Regions from separate parts of the Homo sapiens genome. Here region 2 is linked to region 1. The links are contacts of gene promoters, found by promoter capture Hi-C in human tissues and cell types (Jung and others, 2019). All regions are on one chromosome and are shown on one strand. The core of a region is centred on a gene start or on the middle of the fragment in contact, and the rest is flanking DNA. Distances in the headings are between cores, read along the strand shown.

What was found. Contacts are between HindIII fragments. The study calls those that stand out against the background at their distance.
Region 2: a fragment that was not itself captured here is called in contact with the fragment with the promoter of HOXA13 in region 1 in 1 of the 25 tissues and cell types used here (mesendoderm cells).

Annotation. Positions count from the first base shown.
Region 1 is chr7:27,198,728-27,201,839 of GRCh38, reverse strand. It overlaps HOXA13 (homeobox A13), which reads left to right and starts at 1,749. Exons shown (of 2, transcript NM_000522.5): 1 at 1,749-2,684. The coding sequence starts at 1,763. HOTTIP (HOXA distal transcript antisense RNA) reads right to left here and starts at 1,419. Exons shown (of 3, transcript NR_037843.3): 1 at 1,319-1,419; 2 at 1-1,217. The HindIII fragment of the contact is 6,019 bases long and covers 1,096-3,112 here.
Region 2 is chr7:27,650,215-27,653,405 of GRCh38, reverse strand. The region is part of intron 1 of HIBADH (3-hydroxyisobutyrate dehydrogenase); the gene reads left to right. It overlaps LOC105375211 (a long non-coding RNA gene), which reads right to left. Exons shown (of 3, transcript XR_007060268.1): 2 at 756-806. Among named protein-coding and RNA genes, the nearest start is that of HIBADH, 11 kb to the left of the region's middle. The HindIII fragment of the contact is 6,446 bases long and covers 1-3,191 here.

The sequences.
Region 1 (3,112 bases), core at 500-2,999:
GGGGGGGTGGCTGGTGTGGGGGTCATAGAAGGTTTTATTGGGCGACACTTACATTGGTCAGGACAAATCCAGGATCAGGACAGATAAAAGCCCAAGCCCAGCCACATTGGTCTGGATCCTGCAGGAAGCCCAGGGGCCTTAGACAGCAGATGGTGGGGTGTGTGTGAGGGGTGGTATGCGTGCTGCTCTGAGTTTAGGGCTGAGTGTGCAAGCTAGGAGCAGAGGACAGGTCCAAGCCTGGCTTCTCACCAGTCCGCCTGGGGTGGAAAAGAATCCAGCACTCTCCCCAGCACTATTCCGGTAATGTGCCCACTTTCACTTTGAACGCTTGTTCCTCTTCTAGGCATCTGACCAGCTCACAGTAGTGAATCAGGAAGTGGAAGTATGTGGCTCTAAAGCAGCAGGACCCCCAGAACCCCTCGACAAAACATGGCAGCTACAAGACGGGTCGCTGCTTGGTTCTTCAGCACCAACACCCTACCATGCTCCCAAGAAAAGGTTGCATTTCCCAGGCACAGAGGAAAGGCTTCTTGGACTGGTTCTTGGGCAAAGAAGGACTAGGCACCCTCTGCAGGCTGGAGATCCTACTTGAGGGGAAGGCAGGAAGTGGCCCCAAAGAGCCCCTTTTTCTTGTCCCAAAATAGAGTGAAATAGCGGGTTCCCAGATTCCTGGAGAGTCAGGTCCGGTCCACAAAGAAGCGTGGCTTTAGGGCCCAGAAGGGGGGTTTAAGTCCCAGCCAGAAGCACAGCTGGGGCTTGTTCCTCTTAAGCCCCTTCCAGAACTAAGCCAGCCATACTGGCGAGGTGGGAGCATGGATGAATGGTGCACAGGGATCGCTCGCTCTATCTCAAAGTCTCTGGAGGAGGAAGCGTTGTTACCAGGTCAGAGCAAGGATCAGGCTGTATACCTAAGTGTGCGAATGTGAGTGTGTCAGTGTACACTGTGTGTGTGTGTGATGAGTCGTTCTGAGTCTATGGGTCTAAATGCAAACATATGAAATTGCTCACTAACAGTGTGGACAGGGAAGGGATAGGGGCTCCTAAATGCAGTCCAAGCCTCCAGTGGAATGTCCTGGGACCCAGGCATATCCGCAGGAACCGATAAGCAGCAAACACCCTGCCACTGTTTCCCTGGAAAGAGCAAAATCGCAACTCCATCGAAGCCGAAGGCGCCGATGTCCGTCCTGTGGTCTCACTGCAGAAATACGCGCCGGTTCCTGGAAAGAAAACAGTCCCAGAGGCTCCAAGAAACACCCATTCTGAGCTAGGCTGGTCCCGTCCTCCCCACTCTCCCATCCCTGACCGCCGGCAGAATTACCTGACCTGTCCCCACTGCTCCAGATCGCAACCCAATCGCGCGCCCACCTCCCCTCCCCGCCTGGTTGCGCGGGTCTGGGCCCCACTGGGATAAAGGAAGGGAAGGGGGGCGGAGATGGGGCCGCCTTCCTTCCCTGCCCCACCCGCACGTTCCTCCGCCTCTCCCCCGGGTGAATGGTGCGCGGCCGCGCGGCTGGCGCTGGGGACGGCGCGGGCCGCGGCGGGGACGACGGGTGCACCGTGCAGAGCTGGAGTCGGAGCCGCCCGCTTTGCATACGCCGTGGGCGGAGCGGGGGGGCCGGGCCAATGGGCGGCCGCCTGGCGCGACCCCGCGGGGCGCGATCCGCCCCCCTCGCTCGGGCCCCGGCCCCGCGCCGCGCGCTCTTCACTTCTTGGGGGCTTTTTAAAACAGCGCCACTGGGGTCTTCTCCATGCGGCTCGGGCTATGACAGCCTCCGTGCTCCTCCACCCCCGCTGGATCGAGCCCACCGTCATGTTTCTCTACGACAACGGCGGCGGCCTGGTGGCCGACGAGCTCAACAAGAACATGGAAGGGGCGGCGGCGGCTGCAGCAGCGGCTGCAGCGGCGGCGGCTGCCGGGGCCGGGGGCGGGGGCTTCCCCCACCCGGCGGCTGCGGCGGCAGGGGGCAACTTCTCGGTGGCGGCGGCGGCCGCGGCTGCGGCGGCGGCCGCGGCCAACCAGTGCCGCAACCTGATGGCGCACCCGGCGCCCTTGGCGCCAGGAGCCGCGTCCGCCTACAGCAGCGCCCCCGGGGAGGCGCCCCCGTCGGCTGCCGCCGCTGCTGCCGCGGCTGCCGCTGCAGCCGCCGCCGCCGCCGCCGCGTCGTCCTCGGGAGGTCCCGGCCCGGCGGGCCCGGCGGGCGCAGAGGCCGCCAAGCAATGCAGCCCCTGCTCGGCAGCGGCGCAGAGCTCGTCGGGGCCCGCGGCGCTGCCCTATGGCTACTTCGGCAGCGGCTACTACCCGTGCGCCCGCATGGGCCCGCACCCCAACGCCATCAAGTCGTGCGCGCAGCCCGCCTCGGCCGCCGCCGCCGCCGCCTTCGCGGACAAGTACATGGATACCGCCGGCCCAGCTGCCGAGGAGTTCAGCTCCCGCGCTAAGGAGTTCGCCTTCTACCACCAGGGCTACGCAGCCGGGCCTTACCACCACCATCAGCCCATGCCTGGCTACCTGGATATGCCAGTGGTGCCGGGCCTCGGGGGCCCCGGCGAGTCGCGCCACGAACCCTTGGGTCTTCCCATGGAAAGCTACCAGCCCTGGGCGCTGCCCAACGGCTGGAACGGCCAAATGTACTGCCCCAAAGAGCAGGCGCAGCCTCCCCACCTCTGGAAGTCCACTCTGCCCGGTAAATGACGACCTATTCCCAGCCCTGGTCTTCCGGCTCTGCTCCAGCTTCTTCTCCGCTCGCACCCGGGCGATCCCGGGTGCGTTTCTGTTCTCTTCCTGGTCTGCCCTAGCGGCTCTGCACCCCTGGGAGCCCGAGCATGGCTGGCTGGGTCTGCCTGCACTGCCTCGAGTTGAGCTGGTCCCTGGCTCTCCCTGGGTGAGGGGTGGCTTGTGGAGACCTCGGCTAGCTTCCCTCTCCCTCTGCGCCCCGCCCTCCCCAGCCCCTGACACCAATTTAAGGATGAGAAATTGACCAGAAAACAGCTCCCCAAATTGCCCCTCCCTATTCATTCTCTCAAAAATGGCTTCAGTGTAGAAGCTTCGAGTATTGGGACGGGCACCCAGAAAGGAGGCAGGCACAGAAGTGTTGTACCTTGAGCCTGGCGC
Region 2 (3,191 bases), core at 437-2,936, 450 kb before region 1:
CAGTTCATAGTTACCCTGGGTAAAACTGAGCCAGCTCTCCTTGATTTCTTCACTTAGGTATTGATAACACTATTCTCTTACTGTCATTTTGGACCTCACCCTTATTTTAGCCTATAATCCAATCCATTGTTTTATCCTTTTACTTCTGTCTTTGAAATAGTTTTTATACCTGTCTTTTCCTGTGGCTACCACACTTTATTAATTTTGACTTTGTTATGGACTGAAATTTTATGTCCCCACAAAATTTATATGTTGAATTCCTTTTTTTTTCTTTTTTGAGACGGAGTCTCGCTCTGTCACCCAGGCTGGAGTGCAGTGGTGCGATCTTGGCTCGCTGCATCCTCCACCCCCTATGTTCAAGCAATCCTCCTGCCTCACCCTCCTGAGTAACTGGGATTACAAGCACATGCCACCATGCCTGGATAATTTTTGTATTTTTAGTAAAGACTGGGTTTCACCATGTTGGCCAGGTTGGTCTCAAACTCCTGACCTCAGGTGATCCACCCACTTTGGCCTCCCAAAGTGCTGGGATTACAGGCGTGAGCCGCTGCGCCTGGCCAAAATTCCTAACCCTCAATATAATGATATTAGGAGCTAGGCCCTTTGGGAGGCAATTAGATCATGCGGATAGAGCTCCTGTGAATAGGATTAGTGCTGTTGTACAGAGAGACATGAGAGTGGCTTCTCTTTCTGCTCTCTACCATGTGAGGATACAGTGAGAAAATGGCCATCAGCAAACGAGGAAGTGGACCTACCAGACACTGGATCTGCTGTCACCTTCATGTTGGACTTCCTGGCCTCCAGAACTGTGAGAAATAAGTGTTCGTTATTTAAGCCATTATGGTATATTTGTTATAGTAGCTCAAACTAAGGCATCTAGAGGATTACTGTCACTTTTATATTGGTCTTCTTGCCTCCAGGCTCTTTTCTTCAAGTTCATTCATTGTACACTGCTGCCTCATTTCTGTTCCTAAAGTGTAAGTCTCATCTGTCATTTCTCTTGCCCACTGTTTCAATAACTACCTCTTGCCTACAAAATACAAGTTGTTTAGCATCCTTCTATCCTTCCACATTATGGTTGCATTTTTTTTTTAATCTTAATCTCTTGCTGTTTTGTTTCTTTGTGCATTCTTTAGGAAGAATAGAGGGCAGTATCATACAATGTTTACAAGTGGAGACTCTAGAATTAGAATGTCTGGATTTGAATCTTGGCATTACAACTTAGTAAAGTATTAGGTATTTTACTTCAACTCAGCATCAGGGTTCTCAGCTGTAAGATGGGCTTCATATATAGCATATGGTAATAGGTCTGTTTATAAAGTGCTTAGCATAGTGTCTGGCATGTAGTAAAATTGCAGTAAATATTAACTATTACTGTCATTTCTTCATGGCTCTTCTAGTTCCTTGTATATATTCATGTTCCTTTTTCTGTATGGAGTTCCCCTCCTCCTTACCCTCCTATCCATTTGAAATCCTACCCCTTGTATAATATCCAGGTCAGATGCCACATTCCTCAAGTTCCCACACCATGAATTCTCATTTTTCATCAGCATTGTGTTTTTATCTTTAACTGTCTTATGTTAGTGTTTATGTACATGGTTTATTTCTTCTTGGTTTTAAGCTTGTTGAAGGCAAGGACTGTGTCTCTTACCTTCTTTGGCATCTCTTTTGGTACATGTGATAGTTGCTTAGTGTTTGTTGAATTTGTGAATGAATTGTGGTTCTACGTGACCATACTTATGAATTGTTTGACCTAGAGTGAATTGCCTGTTAAATTAACTGTCTTTAAATTATAATCTTCCTAGTTGCTGAAGTTTTTAGATTGCTAAATTACACCTTTTCAACCTTAACACAGTAATGCCACATTTTCTTTCTGGCTATTATTGCTAGTTTGTTTATGAGCATTAGTTAGAGTTCTCTGATGAAGTGTACTCATTCTGTTTAATATCAAAATAAAATTTCAGTTTGGTGTCACTTTTCTGTCATTGAATTCCTTGCAGGCCAGAAAGACAAACTATACCAGTGTACTATTATACCAGTGTACTATTATACCAGTGTATTAAACTTAGCGCCTGTTAAATGATGTTGCACAGAAATGACACCCACATTTAATGGAAGTGTTAGAGTCAGTCATTAAGTTAAAGGAATTAAATATGCTTCCAACCCAAGAAGACCTCTAGTTCTTAAGCATTAGGGCTTCAAATAATTTGCTTTTAACAAATCTCATTCCATTCAGATTCAGTTCAGGGAAGAGCAGATTAAGTTCAGTTGAGGGGACCTGAAACTTAAAAGAGGGACTGTGATTAGTTGTTGCACTACAAATTTTAAAGCTGGAGTTCTTGAAAGAAAAAAGAAAAAGAATGCTGGGAAATGGAAGAGCAAGGAGAGTTACTTCTCTCTTTTCCCTCACTAGACTGTGAGCTTTTAAAGGACAGGGACCATACGTTGCTTGTGTCTGTCTCTGAGCTCTGTCATAGTACTTCATGCAGTGAATATTTATTGAGTGGAGTTCTAAATCTAGAAAGTGAAAAATTGCATCTAACGCTATTTCCATAGTACTGTAAAGCCTCCCCACTCTGTAACGCATTACTTTGATTCATATGCCCACGGAGTAATTTCAAAAAGTCTTATATGAAAAATAAAAGAATAAATAAAACCTGTGTAGTTTTTAAGGCTTTTTTTTTTTTTTTTTTAATGGCAGCCTGGTCAACATGGTGAAACTCTGTCTCTATTAAAAGGACAAAAATTAGCCAGGCATGGTGGTGCGTGTCTGTGATCCCAGCTACACCGGAGGCTAAGGCATGAGAATTGCTTGAACCCAATAGGCAGAGGCTTCAGTGAGCCGAGATTGCATTACTGCCCTCCAATCTGGGTGACAGAGTGAGACTCCGTCTCAAAAAATAAATAAATAAATAAATAAATAAATAAATAAATAAATAAATAAAAATATAATAAGGAAGTCTCTCTTTTCTGAAAGTTCAGAGTTGTTAGACCAAGGTCCTGATACTGTTACACTTGCCATTTAAAGCCTATGGAGGTATCTCCCCTTTCTACCCCAGGACCACCTTTATAAACTGGTGATTCCATTCTCCTGGGTTTAACATCTTTTTGAGTTTTTTTTTTTTTGTATCATTGGAGGGGATGGTTTCTGTAACTGTGGGAGTGGGAAGGTAAAAAGTTTTTCCATTCTT